Linked DNA regions of Homo sapiens: regions 2 and 3 are each linked to region 1. Evidence: promoter capture Hi-C in human tissues and cell types (Jung and others, 2019). All regions are on one chromosome and are shown on one strand. The core of a region is centred on a gene start or on the middle of the fragment in contact, and the rest is flanking DNA. Distances in the headings are between cores, read along the strand shown.

Region 1 (3,122 bases), core at 603-3,102:
ACACCCCCTCAGCAAGGGTGGCACTCTCTCCACAGCACCCCCATGGGGATGAAGGAGATCCAGGGGCTCCCAGACTGCAGCCAGGTGTGTGGGAGCCACAGACCTCCAATGATGGACCCAGCAGACCTAGATAGAGGCTGCTGTCCACACACAGACCCTGAAAGAAAGGGAGATGAAGACAAGGATAACCAAGATCAGATTTTTCTCCGTCTCTCCCTCTCAGACACACACACACACACACACACACAAACACACTGGGAAATAAAGGGTGGCTTGTGTGTGTTTGAGGGTAGGGCAGAATGGAGGACTGGATTCCTCTTTTAGGGACCTGAAGAAAAGTTTCCCAAAGCCTGGGGAAAGGTCATACACAAGAAAGAGGAAGTGTGTGTGGCCCTCACTACCCTACTATCCCTCTCCCATGTGGCTGCCTCTGTGGAATCCACCACATTTGCAGAGGCCTGCAGGGGCATGGGTGTGAAGCCCTCTCAGCAGGAAACACACCTGCATTCACACCCACACACATGTCCAGAAGCCAGTGGGTCACAGGGATGGGTCAGACTTGGATGCAGGAGCCCCCATTCGAAGCCAGATTAACGGTCCTCTACAGGTCCTCCAAGGAGGCCCCAAGCCCTCCAGAGCTACACAGAGCACCTTTTCAGCTGGGACGGCATTGCCAGGATTGCGTAAAGAAAGAATGTACTTCCCACTGTGGCAGTGGTGGTTGCACCATGAATCCAGAGCCACCCTGCAAGGGCATTCCCAGGACTTCTGACCGAGACATGTAGACGCTAGCTCCCTGCTAAGCTCACACAACCACGGTGCTCCAGTCTTTGCAAGTGGACACCACAGAGAAACACCAAAGGGAGGGGGCTCCCCAGGGACTGGGTCCATTTCTCAGCTCAGCCCAGTAGGCAGGGCCTTAAGGACAATCCCAGCAGACCAAGAGCTCAGATCTGGGCCACGAGTCTTCTTAGGAATAGGGACACAGATCCTGAGCACATCTACCAGTCCCCACTCCAGCTTGAACCCCCCAGTCCCCACTGTCGGCAAGCACACCGCTCTCAACATATTCCACACACATGAGCCCGTCACAGTCCCAAGAGTACTACACTGTACACAGCACATGTACACACAGCACACGGTTCCCCATGCCACACACTGCGCTGACACACGTCCCAGGTCCCCCCTGTGCCGACGCATCTTCCCATCCGACAGAGGACCCATTTTAATGAACGCGGTACACACAGACACTGAAAAGTCCTGCTGTCCTCAGCCTACATACACACACAGCGCCCTGCAGTCCCGCACAGCCAGCACACCACACCGGCCTGGACACAAACTGTGCCCACACAGAGCTCCCGACCAGAACTCAGCGACTCCCGCCCCCGCCGTGCGGCCTGCGCTCCCGCCCCCCGCGTACTAAGCCGATCTCCACCTTGGACTTCCCGGCCCCCTCTTTTCCCCTCCAGCTCCTGTTCCCCAACAACCCCACCCCCGGGCTTCGGGAAACTTTTCTTCAGGTCCCTAAAAGGGGACACCTGGAGTTCCTCCGGTCCCGCCCTGTCCCCGGACACGCGCAAGCCGCCCTTTATTTCCCAGCCCAGCTCCCGCCAGACCCAGCGGGGAAAGGTCACCGTAGGCAGCCCCCTGCCTGCGCCCTGGGGGTGGTGATAATAACAGCTGTCACCGGGGGATGGTCGGGGGGAAGGGAGAGGTGTCGGCCCCGCGCCGAGCCGGGGGCGCAAGGTGGTCGCGGTGACGCGCCGGGGAAGCGCAGAGAAGCAGCGGCGGCGGCGGCTGCGCCTTCCGAGCCCGGGCGGCGGCCGAGGCACGCGGAGCTGTCCGTTCAGCACCACCGCGCCGCGCCCCGCGCAGGGCGGGCGCCCCGTCACACCCGCTCTGCTCCCGCCCCGGCTCACGGGGCGAATGCGGCGCGGGTTCCTGCCTCTCTGGGTGGGTGAGGGGCGCGCGGATCCGGAGAGGGGGCTCCGGGAGCGGCGGGACCACGCAGCCACCTGTGAGCCTTCGGCAGCTGCGGGCGGCGGCGGCGTACCCGGCCCGAGACGGGAGGAGACGCTCGGCGGCCCCCGCCCGCCGGCCCGCCGGGCGCACACACTCGCACCCGCGCACGCACCGCCAGCAGGCAGCGGCCACCGCCGCGATGCTCGCCCGCGGGTTGGGGAAGTTTCCCGCCGGCCTCGGCCGCGGGCACCCGTGCTCCCAGGTAAGCGCTTCCAGAACGCGCAGGGCGAGCCCGGGCAGCCCCGCTGGGTGAGGCGCAGCGCACGCGGCCCCGGGGCATAGCGCCAGGCCGGCAGGGAGACCTGGGCCGGGGACGCGGGGGCTGCAGGCGTGGGATCTGGACCCAGGGGAGGCCGGGCCGCCCCCCTCATTCCCGCGGCCCGGGTTTCCAGACTCCAGCGCATCCCCCCCACCCCACCAAAGCTACGCGCCCCCCGTGTCGGCCCGGCCCTGCCCGTGCGTATCTCAGCTCCGGTCCCGCCTGTCTGCGGCGAGCGGGCGGGGGCGTCTCCCGGGCCTGCCCATGGACAAGGTCAGCATGCAGCCCCCTGGGCGCTCAGAGCCGCGGGGACGCGACCCCGCACGCGCAAAGCGCCCACCGAGACCCCTGGGGTGGAGCTGTGCTAATAGAAACATACCCACCCCCAGCCTTTCCTGGGAGGGGATCAGACCCCTCAAACTCTTGCCCCAGCCCAGCCCTTCAGCACCCAAGACCCACCAGGAGGCCTGGGCCCGCCAGTAATGGGTAGGGAGAGGGGGCCCCGCCAGGGCGCACGGCGCTCTCGCCGACGCTGTTCCCTCCGCTTCCAGGTGTAGCGCCCCCGCGCGGCGCGGGCGGCCGGCGCCTCCAGCATGACCGGCCAGAGCCTGTGGGACGTGTCGGAGGCTAACGTCGAGGACGGGGAGATCCGCATCAATGTGGGCGGCTTCAAGAGGAGGCTGCGCTCGCACACGCTGCTGCGCTTCCCCGAGACGCGCCTGGGCCGCTTGCTGCTCTGCCACTCGCGCGAGGCCATTCTGGAGCTCTGCGATGACTACGACGACGTCCAGCGGGAGTTCTACTTCGACCGCAACCCTGAGCTCTTCCCCTACGTGCTGCA
Region 2 (3,095 bases), core at 504-3,003, 42 kb after region 1:
TGAGGGTATTTTTTCAGCATGTTTAATTAATATTACTACAGGATAGTTTCATGCTCCACTACATGTTTATTCTGCATGTCTGATGATACATTTATTTCAATAATAAGGGGCTCATCCTTTTCTTAGAATAATGGCTTCTCTCAAAAAATTCTCCAAAACAATAATAAATACCATAGTTGACTCTTTGAGGAAACATGCATGGAGTGAAGTGTGCTGGAAGAGCATCATTCTTACTAATGTCACAATTTTCTGCTTCACTGACATCACAATACTTAGTCTAACAATTTAAATTATACTATCTTCATATCATAAAAATGTAAATATTTGTTTCTTGAAAATCTATAAAGTAGTTTTAAAATGAAAGAGGTTAGCTAAAACCCACAAATCATGCAATTTAGATTGTAATAGATAATTTTTAATAGTGAAGCAACATCTAGAAATAAACAAGAGTCTCATATTTTAGTTTCGAAGCATCTAAATCCACAGTTCATTTAAAACAGTTCAGAATAAGAATCGTGGTCTGTTAACTATTTTTAAAACAATAAAACTCAAAATATGCCAAAATGTTTCTAAAACACTTCAAAAGAAAAAATAAATTCGATCATAGTTCTGCATTCTCACTTGCCACATGGGCCTTAGAAGATAAAATGTACCAAAAAGGAAACATTTTAGCATTCTCAATTTTAGAATGGCATGGTTTGTGGCTGAAACAATATTTAATTTTCCCAGCTACTGACAGACAAATGTACAAATTAAACTAAAACACCCATGAAGAGATTCAGATATTTGTAAGGACACAAGAAAAAAGGATAGGAGGCTCTTATGAAAATGTTTAAAAAGCAAAATTGATTTTGTCTACCTTAATAATAAATAAGCTGTCTTGTGCAAACTTAAAAGCAAAATCGTCGCCTGAATGAAACTGAGATTCTATTGTTTTTTCATTAATATTTGTTTTAAAATATGCTCACAAATGCTATGAATTTAAGGTAAAAGAAGGTAGAGAATGAGAATAAATGAACATAAGTCCTGCTAGTTATTAACTTAGATGTGTCTCATGGGGGAAGAATCAACTTTCAAATGTAAATGTTTCAAATCTTCAACTTTCTGAATTGGGGAAAGGACAACAGTGTTTGTGGGTTATGTCAGCATTTTAGACTGCGCAACTAATATGCAGAAATCACAGAAAATAAAGATGAGAGCCGGGCATGGTGGCTAACGCCTGTAATCCCAGCACTTTGGGAGGCTGAGGCAGGCGGATCACGAGGTCAAGAGATCGAGACCATCCTGGACAACATGGTGAAACCCTGTCTCTACTAAAAATACAAAAATTAGCTGGGCGAGGTGGCGGGTGCCTGTAGTCCCAGCTACTCGGGAGGCTGAGGCAGCAGAATCGCTTGAACCTGGGAGGCGGGGGTTGCAGTGAGCTAGGATCGTGCCACTGCACTTCAGCCTGGTGACAGAGTGAGACTCCATCTTTAAAAAAAAAAAGAAAGAAAAGAAAGATGAGAAAGTAATATGCCACCATTACTTCCAAAAGGCTGAGTAAACATTGATTACAAACTAAAATTTTCACACTTAGATGATTATAATACACGAATGGTCCAAAAAGGCTTTTCTTTGCGGGGGCGGGGGGGCGGTCTGAGAATGGCGCCAAATTAGATTTTTAGAAACTGTTTTTCGGTATCAACTAATTTAATAGAGAACATGGCATCAAAATTTTATCTCTAATAATACCTTGCAAAATGAGTGTGTTCCCAAATGTTCCTGCAAGTCTTCAGCGCTGGGGCTGGACCAAGCTGCACCTCTTGCAAAGGCAGCAAGGCTTTGGTTTTATCCTCCCTTGAGCCAGACACCTGCCTTCTGAGTGGCCTCACTACTAATGTGGACATGGAAGCAGAGGCAGAGAACTGAGGTTGGGGGACAGCACAAAGAATGGCTGATCTTACTTTACATCTACTGGGAAGCCGGGAGACTGTGGTCATGAGTGGAAATTTGGGGATCAGAATTTCAGCTCTGGTTTGAATAATATACATTAATATGGAGTAGTTTTGCTAGTAAATCTTCACATTTTTATTTTACAAGATGAAATTTCAGTTCAGTCTTAAAAAGTCCATTTTAATAAGGATAAAAGGAAAAATGCATCTTTAATTATTGACCATATGAAAGACATATTGTTGGTTTACCTCCTGTGGAAAAAGTAATAACACAGCTATGTGGCTGCTGAATTCAATGTGCTCTTGAGGAACTTTCCAAAAAATATTAGTAACTGACTGACATACACTGTTATTCAAGGAAGAGCTTATCCACTGGATAATTATTCTGAAACTGGTTTATATTCACATACAATATATGTAACTCTCAATCTGAAATAAATGACCCAGCAGACCTAGTGCTGAGCTGCTAGTACCTGGTACTAACAGATCCTAGAATTCTCCAAAGCATTCTTAGACAAGAACACCGTGAGTGAACTTTCCATTATTAGAGTCAGAGTAGCGGTGCAATACCAGAAATGATCAACTAATTTTGAAAAATACCACATGCAAAGAAATTACCTTCAAACTGCCAAAAACACTGCAAGCTGGTCCACACAACACTGCCCATTTCTGGATACCCATGATTTACCTAAGTTCTTCTAGCCTATTTTCAGTTAGGAATGCCCATTTGAATGAACCTCCTCCTGCTACAGTTCTCTTAACCACAGTGCATGATCTTGTGACTCTGTCAGGTCCACCCTAGCCCTGCCACCGCCAACCCACAGATCTCTTCTAATTACCCCAGTTGTGAGAGACAGTCATAGTCTTAATCATTTTCTTTTCACAGGGGTGTTCACTGCCTCATCTCACCCGTACTCAGTACAAGGCCTTTTAAGTAGGCCACCCTCACTCTCACAGTTGTTTCTATAGTCAGAATAGTCAGCTGTGCTGGACCAAGCTGTCAAAAGAAGGGAGAGATAACTCTTAAATACTGAGGAAATTGCAGATTCTGCTAGCTATTTTTTAATTTTTCAATGACCAGAAACTGTCTTTCATTGGTCTTTAGTGAGTGTCATCCTTAATTATATCAACTAATTTTAAAGATGACATTTTTCCTAGACA
Region 3 (3,515 bases), core at 406-2,905, 55 kb before region 1:
GTGCACATAAACCCAAGGATGAGTAGGACTAAAACCAAGAAGACACAGTGGGGTGTCAGCACAAATGTGTGCCAGCCTTCTGAGCTGGACTCAGGGGCCCACATCATCCAGGAATGCTGACATTACCTCTCTTGTTCTTGGAACCAGCTTCCCTTTGCATAAGGTTCAGAGCCAGATAAAATGTAAGCTTGTCTACTTAGAGTCACAGTTTTGAAATTGTAAATGGTATCAAGGAGATGAGGTCTTGGGATCCAAACAAGTCAGGTTAAATCCCATCTGGATGATCTTTGGTTGTTTTCTTTACACCCGAGTCTCAGTTTCCTCACCTGAAAAATGCAGATGCTAGGACCATACAAAATATTGTAAAATGTAGGGGTATTATATGTGAAAGACTTTGCCTAGAGTAGGCACTTAACACTTACACTATATTTTAGGAAAGAGATTGGGAGCTCTGGTAAGATCTCAGACCACTGGACCCAAAATGTTCCTAGGATGTTGAAGGTCCCAGAGGAGCACCCAGGACAGAAAAGAAACAAAACTTACTACATTGTTACATGGTTGTTTGTGCCTGCAGGACAAGACTTGATCTTGTTATTCATTGCATCCCCAGGGCCCAGCCTAAAGCCACTTGTGTAGTAGGTGCTCAATAAACATTTGCCGAACTGGTGAAGTGGTAACTGGTTTATCCATCCCTCTGATCCCATCCAGTAAGGACGAGAAAGAGAAATTAACACATATCAAATACTTGCTATGTGTACTTCCCTGTACATAACATAATTTCACTCTCACAACACTGAGTTAAGTATTTATGGTCCCATTTTAACAGATGAGGAAAACCGAGGCTCCAAGAGCTTTGAAATAATACTCCTAAGGTTAACTAGCTAGTGAGTGCTGGAGCAGGGCTTTCATTCGAAAGCACATGTTCTTTGTAGGCTGCTGGATCGCAAGTGCAGTAGGAGAAAGCACAAGGGCGGTACATCAGAGGGGAGCCAGCAGCAGGAATGTCACTCTGATATTTTCTTCTTCAAACATTCAACTCTCCTCAACCAAAACACTTCCCAGATGCTTCCAGGACCTGGCAAGTCTTCAGTCACAAAGCTAGGGATAGTCCCCACACCTGCAGGAGAACAGAACTTTAGAGGCTGACCCCTCAAGATTATGCTTTTTAACTTGTCTAAGGGCCACTGCTGGAACCTTCGTCTCAGTTGCATTGAGGGCTCTAGGGCCACATGAGACAGTACTTTTACCCTATACCAAGTCCTAGGACATAGGACATGGTGGTGTTATGGCTTGAATTGTCTCTCCCCAAATTGCGTGTTGAAGTCTGAACCCCTAGTACCAGTGGAAAGTGACCTTATTTGGAAATATGGTCTTTGCAGATCTAATCAAGTTAAGATAAAGTCATACTGAGTGGGATCAGGGGGAGGGGGGTCCTTAAACCGAATATGACTAGTGCCCTTTTAAGATGAGGGAAATGTGGACACAGACACCCACACAGGGAGAACACCATGTGAAGACAGAGGCAGAGGTTGGAGTAATGCAGTTGCAAGGCATGGAATATGAAGGATTGCCAGCTGCCATCAGAAGCTAGGCAAAGGCAAGGAAAGAGTCTCAGACTCTGGGTCTTAGAGGGAACATGGCTTGCTGACACCTTCATTTCAGACTTTTAGCCTCCAGAACTGTGGGAGAATCCATTTCTGTTGCTTTAAGCCACTCAGTTTGCAGTACTTTGTTAAGGAACCCTGGGAAACTAATGCAGAGGGCTCTTCAGGGCAGCCTCCAAGTTCCAGAGCCTTATGCCTCAGCCATCAGCTGGGGAGGCCCGCAGACTCCAACAGCCAGGACGCCACAGCTCCCCGGCCCCTCCACCCACTCCTGTGAGACGACGCAGACTTCAGCTCCAAACCCAGCTCTGCCCAGTGGGGTTTTTTGTTGTTATTTTTCCTAGGCTTTTCTACCTGAACACCCAGTGGTTTTTTGTTTTTTTTTTTCCCCTTAACTCTTGGCTCTGAACATCCTTCACTGACGTGAGAGATAATACAAACAGCTTTCTGTTAACATAAGCACCAACATCCTCGCTACTATTTATCCACTTCCACATTGTAGGCAGAGGGTCCAGAACATTGGCTCCGCTTCAGTCTGGGGAACAGAGGCTCTGGAGACTTTGTGCTGTGCACCAGGAGGAGGCAGAGCAGGATAATGAGAAGAGCATGGGTTGTGAACTCTAACAATTCACAGTCTAGCGCTGCTCCCTTCCAGCTGCGTGGCTTTGGGAAAGCGCTTGGTCTCTAAGCCTGGTGTCCTCATTTACAATGTGAGAAAAATAACACCATGCCCTGAGGTTATGATGAGAATTGAATGAGATAATGTGCATGAAGTAACTGATAAATATTATCAGTCTTACTCTGGTTATAATGGTTGCTATTATTTCTTCTTTATAATTAACTTCCCTGAAATGGAATTTCACCATGAATTAAAGCACTGTAGGAGGGGAAAGACAGAGAGAGTCAGATGAGGGGAAGGAAATTCGTTGGGTCTGCCCAGCCTATATTGTGATTATTTGAGAACAGCCCCTCCCACCAGAGTTGGTGCTCCATAAATGGCAGTTATTATTCTTGCTTTTTTTGTGATTGCTGTTTATGAGTTTCTGTTTTTGAGCCATATCAGTGCCCTTAACATCTCCTTCTGTGTCCGAGCCAGATGATTGGATCTTTTCCCCAATCTCTACCCTCCTGTAACAGGATTCTAGATCCACATTCTTTTCCATGTAAAGTGCATTTCCTCCCACCGTGGGCAGAGTGTGCTTTCTACATGACTTGGTTTGGCCAATGAAATGTCATCAGTCATGACATTTACTTATGGTCTGGCTTATTCTCTTACATTCCTGATAATGTCTATTGAACATGTGTGTGCTGGGCATTGAGCTAAATGTTCTTACTGGATCATCACAACTGTGTAAGGCAGGTACTATTTTCATGCCAGTTTTTAGATTAAAAACTGAGGCCTAGAGAGATAATTAACTTGCCCCAAGTCACACTGTAATGGACCCAGGACTGAACCCAGGCAGTCAGCTTGCCTGACCATGTCGCTTCACCATGCTGCCTCACCGCTGGAGGAAGGTGGTAGAAATTCCTTCTGCCCAAAGACACAAAAGGTAATATCTGCTTCTTTTCTTTCCTTTTTTTTGTGAATGTCTTATATAACTTATCCTGTCATCCTTATGACCACACAGGAGTTTTATAGATGAGGAAACAGGATCAGAAAACCTAAGTGGCTTGCCGAAGTCACACAACTAGTAAGTAGCAGAGATGGGATTTAATCTCAGATTTTGAATATTGGACTCCAAAACCTATATTCTTTCCATCTTTCCACCATACCACACTGTCTCCTCCCATTGCATATTGCTGATTTATGGAGGCCTCTGTTTTTCTAGATCTGAAATGGAATGATCAGTCTAGAATCTAAAATCTAGATACCCACCCACAATGGAGAAGTGTGAAAACAGTAGCATTCTT

What was found. The method cuts DNA at HindIII sites, captures the fragments that hold promoters and counts their contacts. A contact is called where the count stands out against the background at its distance.
Region 2: a contact is called between a fragment that was not itself captured here and the fragment with the promoter of KCNS2 in region 1, in 1 of the 25 tissues and cell types used here (H1 embryonic stem cells).
Region 3: a contact is called between a fragment that was not itself captured here and the fragment with the promoter of KCNS2 in region 1, in 2 of the 25 tissues and cell types used here (H1 embryonic stem cells and stomach).

What each region holds. Positions count from the first base shown.
Region 1 is chr8:98,425,106-98,428,227 of GRCh38, forward strand. It overlaps KCNS2 (potassium voltage-gated channel modifier subfamily S member 2), which reads left to right and starts at 1,853. Exons shown (of 2, transcript NM_020697.4): 1 at 1,853-2,224; 2 at 2,833-3,122. The coding sequence starts at 2,875. It also overlaps a transcript of STK3 not described here. RefSeq lists a silencer at 1,753-1,952. The HindIII fragment of the contact is 18,533 bases long and covers 1-3,122 here.
Region 2 is chr8:98,467,632-98,470,726 of GRCh38, forward strand. The region is part of intron 10 of STK3 (serine/threonine kinase 3); the gene reads right to left. Among named protein-coding and RNA genes, the nearest start is that of KCNS2, 42 kb to the left of the region's middle. The HindIII fragment of the contact is 7,225 bases long and covers 1-3,095 here.
Region 3 is chr8:98,370,562-98,374,076 of GRCh38, forward strand. It overlaps a transcript of STK3 not described here. Among named protein-coding and RNA genes, the nearest start is that of MIR9903, 21 kb to the right of the region's middle. The HindIII fragment of the contact is 4,822 bases long and covers 1-3,515 here.